Regions from separate parts of the Homo sapiens genome. Here regions 2 and 3 are each linked to region 1. Evidence: promoter capture Hi-C in 16 types of primary human blood cells and fetal thymus (Javierre and others, 2016). All regions are on one chromosome and are shown on one strand. The core of a region is centred on a gene start or on the middle of the fragment in contact, and the rest is flanking DNA. Distances in the headings are between cores, read along the strand shown. Region 1 holds the start of ZFP91 (ZFP91 zinc finger protein, atypical E3 ubiquitin ligase). Region 2 overlaps CTNND1 (catenin delta 1). Region 3 overlaps ZDHHC5 (zDHHC palmitoyltransferase 5).

Region 1 (2,731 bases), core at 144-2,643:
AATTTACAAACTTGTGTGCTTCAGTATTCTTAACATGAGTATTATTTTAACGAACAATTTAAGACAATGCTCCTGGCCACCTGTTCATGTTTCCTCTATTACGTCTAGGTAATAAAGGAATTCCTCTCAGATGATTCTAATTTCAAGGATGAAGTTCCTACATTTAAAAACACGAAACACAAAGATAAAACATATGCTACTTAGTAAAAACAAACATTAAAGAATGCTCATATAATTTTATATGAAAGACTCCATACTTAAAATCGTAGCAGTGGGCTTTTAACCTGACCATAATAAGTGGCAAATTTCTCAAAAGAATGAGAAGGGTTGCGAAAAATTTAGAAAAGTGAAAAAAAAAAAAAGCTACATAAACACACTAGTACATCTGGCTCTTGAGCTAACGCGAAGGCGGGGGGGAATCATTTTTGAAGGCTATGATCGGGCTGTGTATTCCCTAAAGGGCATGTGATGTAATACTGGAGAGCCGCCTAAAGGAAAGGGATAGGGTGACAAAGGGGGTGCGGATGCCAGAAAGAGGGATGAGCCTGCGGGTGTCAGGGAGGAGGTGGATCACTAGCGAGTGCAGGGGTGTATCAAAAGATGATTTCGGGGAGTGGGGAAACGGCCCGACAAGCGAAGGTACAGGAGCGAGATGAGGGTGGCGCAGAGAGGAGGCACGAAGGCTCCCGGGGAAACGGTGTGACATCTGGCGTGCGGAGCCGGCAGGGGGCAGACCAGGCAGGATGTCACGTGGAGTAGGCGCTACGGGAGCCGAGAGGGTTGCGTACGGACAGAGGGGGGTCTTTCCCACCGCCTGAAAGACTGTTACTCACAGGAGTCGCGGACTCTTCTTGCCCTGAACTGGAGACGGGGACTTCGCGGCCTGGGGCTGCTGCCCGGGGACGTCGGGAGGCCTGGCGCTGGGGCTGCTCCTCCGCCGGCGGGGATACTCGGCCTTCCTCCGGCGGGACACAGCTGCGGCGGCGGCGGCCGCAGCGGCCCGGCCTCGGTCCCGACCTCCCCTCAGCACGCGGCTGCTAGTGGTCCCTGCAGGCGCCGCCGCGACCGCCTCAGGGGGCCGTTGTTGGGGCTCCTCCGGAGCCGCCTTGGCCGCCTCTCCCCCTTCCTGGTCCTGCTGCTCCGGGGGTCTCGGCTCTTCCGTCTCCCCCGGCATCGGGGCTTGTCCGTCCCCCACCCCCTAGTCCTAGGCGGCGGAGGCGGAGGCGGCGGCCTCGGCGCTGCTCCCCCCGCCCCCTCGCCTCCCGAAGCCTGCGGCTCACTCTCACCCTGCGCTCCTCTTTCCCCCCTCCCCTCCGCCCGGCTCCGAGGGCGCCCCCCCCACCCCCTGCCACTCAAGGTCCGCTACCGCTGGCGGCGCGCGCGCGCGCGCCACAGACGCTCAGCGGGCCAATCGGAAAAGAGGACAAGCCTCCTCACCCCGCCCCTCGCAGTCTTACACGCAGCGGCGCCCCAGGTTCCCTCCCCCACCCCTTCCTTCAGCCAATCAGGAAACGGCTAAAAGGGGAGCGCGCGAGGTTTCCTTCCCCGCGCACCCGTTCTCACCGTTAAACGGCTGTGTCTCGCGACAATCCCAAAGTGACCTTTTTCCCCCCTCCAGACTTCAACGCGCGCTAGGGGCAGTGCGAGGGGCAGGTCTCGCGAGGGAGGCGGGTGAGAAGAAATCGCACCTCTTTCCCCGCCTCACGCAAACCCTAGACTGGCTGCGCGCGCACCTGCCTCCCTGAGGAGCCACTGATACCACAAGGGCTCTTTCTATTCTTCTTTAGGCCGCAGAAGTAGCCTGGGCGTTCTTCCGCCTCCACCCTACCCCACTTTCCTGTCTTTGGCCTTTCTGTCCCCAGCGCCGCCAGATCTTGCGCGGAGAAGGGGGTAGTATTTTGAGCTGTCGCTTCTCCTTTAAGAAAAAAAGCCCCGTCGGTTGCCGGATGAAAGTCTCTGAAAAAATGGCGGCGGCAAAACGGAGGCGGGGTTGTGGGGGCAACGAGGGCCCGCCTCTTGGCGCATGCGCACCGTTAACTTAACCAAGGGCATTCTGGGAGATGAAGTCTTATTTCGCCTAGGCTTTAGGAAAAATAGATGGGAAACCAGAGGTGGAGAGGATGCCGGGAGGTTCTAACTGAGTCACGACGGGAAAGGTAGTTTACTTTCCGCAGTCTAGAGTTTACCTTTTTTTCGGGAGGCAGTGTTTCCGGGTTAGGTCGCGACGCGTGCCGTACATCCGGGCTCAAGCGTCGAGCCAATTGCTGGTCTGATGGGAGGGTTTTTCCTACTTTTTCTTACTTTTTATCTGGGCGTTGGCGTACCTTTCTCGGGGTGTCTGCGTAACTGCCCAGACTTGCCTTGGTTTGGTCAGATGACACCTCCTCTGGGACTGGCTAGCCAGCGTTCATGTCTACATTATTGATCTCGTCTTCCGGTGTGTGAGTCACTCACCTGTGAGCTCCTAGAGGTCAGCGACTAAATCTGGTTCCATGGGGTCCTTGGGCCCTCGGAGCCCTAGCACAAGGCCCACTACTCAGTTGGCTCTTAATCAAATCTGTGAAACGAATTATAAAGTTGCTTTTCTACTAGACCTTGTTGGGACACCAAGGAGCCGGCGTCGGTTGCTTAACTTGGATGCGGTGCCTGACCTAGAGGGAGGCGAAAGGGTTGTGAGCGTGACATGACTGGTGACCTACACCGAGAAGCTGAAGGGTCTCTTAAGCTCTGC
Region 2 (2,755 bases), core at 17-2,516, 780 kb after region 1:
AGAGAAAGATTATATAGCAGCATTTATAGGATATAAAAAGAATTCAGGAAAACTTTAATAAAATAAAGGCACTTGAGTTTAACCACAAAAAGATAAATAAGAAGAGAAAGGCATCACAGAAAGAACAGACCTTCCTCACCCATGCCCTAACCTCCTAGTACTCTGTACCCCTTTTGCTGAATTTATCACAGCCTGACTTGAAATACAAATAACTAGGGCAAGGACATAGACACACACAAGTCCAGGACTAGACCACCTTACATGTGGTAGATGCTGAACAAAAGCTTACCAAAGTAGATGAACAAAGTCAAAGAGGCATAAAAGTGAAGAGGATGTGTGGGGAACAGCAAGAAAACTGATATAGGTACATGTGGTATACATGAGAGAATAGCAACAAAGATAGAAAGGTTGGAGTTACAGTATGCAATACAGATAGGAATGGAGGCTAAAGAATAGGCTAAAGAATTTTAATTTTTTTTTTTTTTTAGGAAATTTAAGTCAGTCCTCAAAAATTCATCTTCATATTCTCAAAGTCCCTACTGTTACCTAAGGCAGCCAGCTGTGTTGGTGAGCACCGATTCCCACTCAATGTGGCGTGGCTTACAGTCTTCATTAGGTTCCCGCTCCCAACCAGAATGAGGAATGATCACTTCATCTGTCAAGGCATGCAGTGCATGGTCCACAATCTCCATTTTGATTGAGTCATGGGATGAAAGATTCCACAGGGTTCCTGGAAGAGACAATTCATCAGATGGCTCTTGAGCATTCAAGACAATATGTCTGAAGAACGTCAAAGAGAATCCCCCTATCGTATCACTTCTCAGTCTTCCCCAGTGACCAAATACCTTATAGTAATATTCAAGCTTTGTTTGCGACCCTCACCAAGAAACATATTCTACATTATAGCTCAAAATAAACATACAGATCATGAAACAAACAATGTTTAACTATAAGCAACGCTCAGGCTGGGTGTGGTGGCTCACGCCTGTAATCCCAGCAATTTGGGAGGCCAAGGCGGGCGGATCACAAGGTTGGGAGATCAAGACCATCCTGGCTAACACTAAAAATACAAAAAATTAGCCGGGCGTGGTGGCGGGCACCTGTAGTCCCAGCTACTTGGGAGGCTGAGGCAGGAGAATGGCGTGAACCCATGAGGCGGAGCTTGCGGTGAGCTGAGATTGTGCCACTGCACTCCAGCCTGGGTGACAGAGCGAGACTCCATCTCAAAAAAAACAAACAAAACTATAAGCAATGCTCAATGCTCTCCGATCTGTCTATACCAGAGTTTTTCAACCTCAGCACCACTGACATTTTCGGCCAGATGATTCTTTGTTATGAGGAGCTGTCTTGTCTATTGTTGGATGTTTACCAGTACCCCTGGCCTTTACTCACTAGATGCCAGTAGCACTCCCTCTCCCCTGTTCCAAGTTATAACAACCAAAAATATCTCCAACACTGCAAATGTCCAAATGTCCTCAGGGCAGGGCAGGCAAAATGGCCCACAACTGAGAAACAATGGTCTATACTACTTTTTCTTTATTCCTTTCCCTTGGAATGCTGATTATGCTCCACAAAATTTTGTTTTATTCACTAACGGATCACACAAATAGATCACAACCCACAATCTGAAAAACTACTGCTCTAAATAAAGCAAGAACCACAAGCTTAAATGTCTATATGGGTCAAGCCGGTGAGTCAAGAGAGGAAGATAATTAAAAGAAATTACAAGCATGTGAAAAAATAGCAGTTGACAGCTCCATGTTTGGGAAACAACTTCCTAAACAGCTGTAGTTGGTCAGATAATAGAATGTGTTGGAGATTAGTGTAAATTAGAGAGCACATGCTCCAATCAGTTCAGACCAAATACTGCTAAGGAAGAAAAGAGATCCATTGTTAACAACTCTTCCACGTTTTTAATAGAAGCCAAGAATCTGGAATTTTAAGTGAAATCTTCTGAATTTTAAACATCAGCAACCAGTTCTTTAAAATTTCAATAATGCTGTGTGATCCAAACAAATCTGTGAGATGGATTTGACCCACAGCCACCAGTTCACAACCTTTCATCAAAAGTAAAAGGTCTGGAAATCCCTCTAGTTCTCAACATCACTAGAGAGTAACACTGACTTAGCAATTTTCCTTAGGCCTAGAACTCACCGGTAATAACTTCAGTAAGGTCCATATCACGAGCCTTTCGAAGCAATCGCACAAGGGCAGGCACACCATCACAGTTTTTTATGGCAATCTTGTTATCCTGGTCACGTCCAAAAGAGATATTCTTGAGAGCTCCACAGGCTCCAAGGTGCACTTCCTTTTTGGGATGGTCTAACAATCCCACCAGTACTGGGATGCCCTTGAGCTTCCGCACGTCAGTCTTCACCTTGTCATTGCGGTAGCATAAGTGTTGCAGGTATGCAGCTGCATTGGACTTGACAGCATCCAAGCGGAATCCAAGCATGGCGATCACCTCTGGCAGCTCTGGCTGTCTCCAATTAGGAGGTGGAGGCCCTCCTTTGCGCAGGCTATCCAAGCTTGCTAAACTTCCTCGCTCATGCTGGGCCAAAGGAGCCCAGTAGTATTGATCCGATGGCACCTCCTCACCAATCATGTCTTCATAGCTCCTGAGAAGTTTTGGAAGAACCAAGAGAATACATCAAGTCATTATGGCTAGCTTCCTGGACATTCCCATTACCCTCATCTGCAAAGGAGGATTAACTGGAGTTTCAGTGTGCTCATCTTATCTCTCCTTTGCATGAAT
Region 3 (2,901 bases), core at 209-2,708, 900 kb after region 1:
GCCCAATAAAATCATGAAAAGTCATGAAAAATTATTGAGTCTACTACTAAAAAATCTGTAAATCCAGCCTTGAATTCAAGTTCTCATCTGGTTTATTTCCACAGCCTCCCAAAAGGTAGCTGTAATTCTTACACGAATTATTTTTCTAAAAGGAATTCTGATGTTGAGTCCTCCAATTAAAGACCTCTTCCTATCCAAAGGAAAATGTATGATCTATTTAACTTAGTATGTAAAGTCCTTGACAATTTGGCTCTGGGTTTACCTCCCATCCCTCTGGTCACACCATGCATAACATCCTCTAGCCCCACTAAGTTTGCCATTTCATGGCTACAAGCTTCTGCATGTGCTGTTTCCTCTGCCTAAAAATGCCCTTCCCTCCTATATTCTACTTGGTAAAGTCTTTCCCACCTATTTTCAGCAGCATTTCCCCAATTTATTTGGGCAAAATATGTTCTCATATTTCTTTGTTCTCAATTGTTTGTATTCTCACAGAACCTTGCTCTTGCCTCCATTATAGTCTGCATCACACTGTCATAACTGTCTTAATTCACTGTGGGTATTACTGTACCTAAAAATAGCATCCAACCCATATGCTTTAAATAAATTTCTGCTGAACAAATCACTAAAACTCAAAGATTTGACCCAAAGTGAATCATAGGACTAGAAGTTATGACATATATTCCTAAAGACCCTGACCTGATTTTCATCATCAGAAAATGATAAAAGTATCCCAAAATCCCCGGACTTTAAGGCCCAAGATCAACTGCGTATGCCCAAATCATTATTTTTCATATCCCAAAATCCCAGGACTCTTAAGGCCCAAGATCAACTGTGTATGGCCAACTCATTATTTTTCAAAGGCAGTGTAAGGTGCTTCTAAGAGAGAAGCAGATCTTACCTCGAGGGAAAATCCCTGGGTCCATGAAGGTGGCCATGCTGAAGTTGGCCAACACAAAGAGAAACATAATTGCATTGTAGATGGGCACTGCAGGTGACACATACAGGCTTAGTCCTGGACACCTGCACAGACAATAAAGAAAATGAGGGGTTGCCTCTAATATTTTGGACACGAACCATACATACAAAAATCTGTAAAGACTTAGCCCCTTACCTATAGATAAATCTTGTGTGGTTTACCTTTGCCATCCCAAATTATTATCTTTATCTTTCCCACTAAGTGAGTCTAGTTTCCTATGGGAACTGCTCACTTTAGATAAAAGTACAAGACTCAGAATCTCTCCCATCTTAACCTGTTGCACTAAGGTCTTTGTGCTTCAGATTCATTCCTACCCTGTGGATCTTGCCACATGTTTTGAGATCTGTCCTTATCTCCTTTCTAACCAGACATGAGAACCAGGTACTGACTATGATATCAGCTACACTCCCTTCTCTGGAGCAGCCTGAGGTTTCTGGATCCCAGCTATGTCCCATTGACCTGCACATTGGCCCAAAGCATGGGATACCACCTACCTTTCTAGCCCCCGCCTCCCCCTTGCCAGGGGACTGAACCACATAAGTGCCTAAAGTATCTCCATTGCATTGGATATGCCTGAGAGTTTACTCAACTACAGGCCAGTTCTTAAGGTTGGGAAATTCTTTTAAAACACACAGATGAGAATGGATATCAAGACACAGAAGTAAACCCTTTGATGTCTAAAAATGAAGCAGGAATGGGGGAGGATAGAGACTATCAGACCAAAGAAGCCCTCAATTTTGTAGGAAAAAGAAACTACCCAAACATACCCAGTATTCCACAGCAGTCAACTCAAGATATGCTTTAAGGTAACTTTTCTTGATCAAAAAAACAATTCTCTAGTCCAGAATTAAACTCAGTTTCTTTCAGGATTTGAATCTACGTAGGAATGCTTCAAGAGCTCTTCCTTTCTCTGCTGATTTCCTGGGAGCTGGAAGTTTTGGAAGAACCTGATGTGCTACTTTTTTGTCAGTAGTATCAAACACTCTCGTCTCAGCTCAGGGAGAAGTTCCCACTACCAAGACAGTGGATAAATACTCTAATCTACTTTGTGGCTGAGAACTTAATCTCCAGAATGAGGACAGCATCTGTCCTTGTCCCCTTTATCTGAACCAGTCAAAGCAAAGGAAGAACTCACTGAAGGAAAGGAAGAAGAGGACAGGAGAACAAGACAGCATATGATTCCAGAGAATTAAACCACAGCAGTCTGGGATTCTGTGAAGAAAAGGTATCTGCACCCACCAAAACAAAAAGCACAGCCCTGAGACTGACTCAGAGCAGTTTGGAGGAACTCAGTTCCTTAACGAGATACAAGCAAATCAAGATAAGAGACAAAACTGTCACAAAGCATCTCACAAATCTTTACCACCACCATCTATTTATTCAAATTCCATTCAGCCATTCATTTTGAAAAGTTTTTAGTATTTATTATATGCCAGGCTTTTTAGATAGTAAATATCCATTAGCTGTTTGGTTCTCTTGATATGTCAGTACACAATTAGCAGACAAAATAACGAAGCTGGAGCAAGGGCATCAATTTTAGGGACTAAACAGACCTTCAGTCATAGTTCTATACTATCCTCAAAGAAAGCCCCCCATGGAAGCTTCTTCCTCTGTGAGTTCTTTGGTTCAGAAAAGATGTCTCCATACATTGGCAGGGTTTGGAGTGGAATATAAGCAAAAAGAAGAGTTCCTGCACCGCCTCACCCCAAAGCCTGACCTCCTAGGTTCCTTAAGAAGGAGGGAGAGAAACTGAAAACCAGTCATCCAGGTCAGAGCCCCTCCCTAGTACTAAGTTGTCACTTCAATTTCCGCCTGGGGAAGAAGAGAAAGGGTGACTCACTTGACTCCTACAGCCTGGGAAGATAATTAGAAGGGAAAAAGAAATTAAATCCTTAGAACACTGAGGTGCCCATGATTTAAAAGTC

The links. The method cuts DNA at HindIII sites, captures the fragments that hold promoters and counts their contacts. A CHiCAGO score of 5 or more calls a contact.
Region 2: a contact is called between a fragment that was not itself captured here and the fragment with the promoter of ZFP91 in region 1, in 1 of 17 cell types (non-activated CD4 T cells). The highest score is 5.6, in non-activated CD4 T cells.
Region 3: a contact is called between a fragment that was not itself captured here and the fragment with the promoter of ZFP91 in region 1, in 2 of 17 cell types (naive CD8 T cells and total CD8 T cells). The highest score is 6.2, in naive CD8 T cells.

Annotation. Positions count from the first base shown.
Region 1 is chr11:58,577,725-58,580,455 of GRCh38, reverse strand. ZFP91 (ZFP91 zinc finger protein, atypical E3 ubiquitin ligase) reads right to left here and starts at 1,393. Exons shown (of 11, transcript NM_053023.5): 1 at 834-1,393. The coding sequence starts at 1,174. It overlaps ZFP91-CNTF (ZFP91-CNTF readthrough (NMD candidate)), which reads right to left and starts at 1,342. Exons shown (of 13, transcript NR_024091.1): 1 at 834-1,342. It also overlaps a transcript of LPXN not described here. RefSeq lists enhancers at 324-1,015, 1,760-1,989, 1,709-2,401, 2,020-2,539, 2,560-2,639 and a silencer at 920-1,339. The HindIII fragment of the contact is 10,569 bases long and covers 1-2,731 here.
Region 2 is chr11:57,801,596-57,804,350 of GRCh38, reverse strand. CTNND1 (catenin delta 1) reads right to left here. Exons shown (of 21, transcript NM_001085458.2): 7 at 2,155-2,618; 8 at 547-730. TMX2-CTNND1 (TMX2-CTNND1 readthrough (NMD candidate)) reads right to left here. Exons shown (of 21, transcript NR_037646.1): 8 at 2,155-2,618; 9 at 547-730. Among named protein-coding and RNA genes, the nearest start is that of CTNND1, 41 kb to the right of the region's middle. The HindIII fragment of the contact is 801 bases long and covers 866-1,666 here.
Region 3 is chr11:57,680,541-57,683,441 of GRCh38, reverse strand. ZDHHC5 (zDHHC palmitoyltransferase 5) reads right to left here. Exons shown (of 12, transcript NM_015457.3): 3 at 899-1,020. Among named protein-coding and RNA genes, the nearest start is that of ZDHHC5, 14 kb to the right of the region's middle. The HindIII fragment of the contact is 2,243 bases long and covers 337-2,579 here.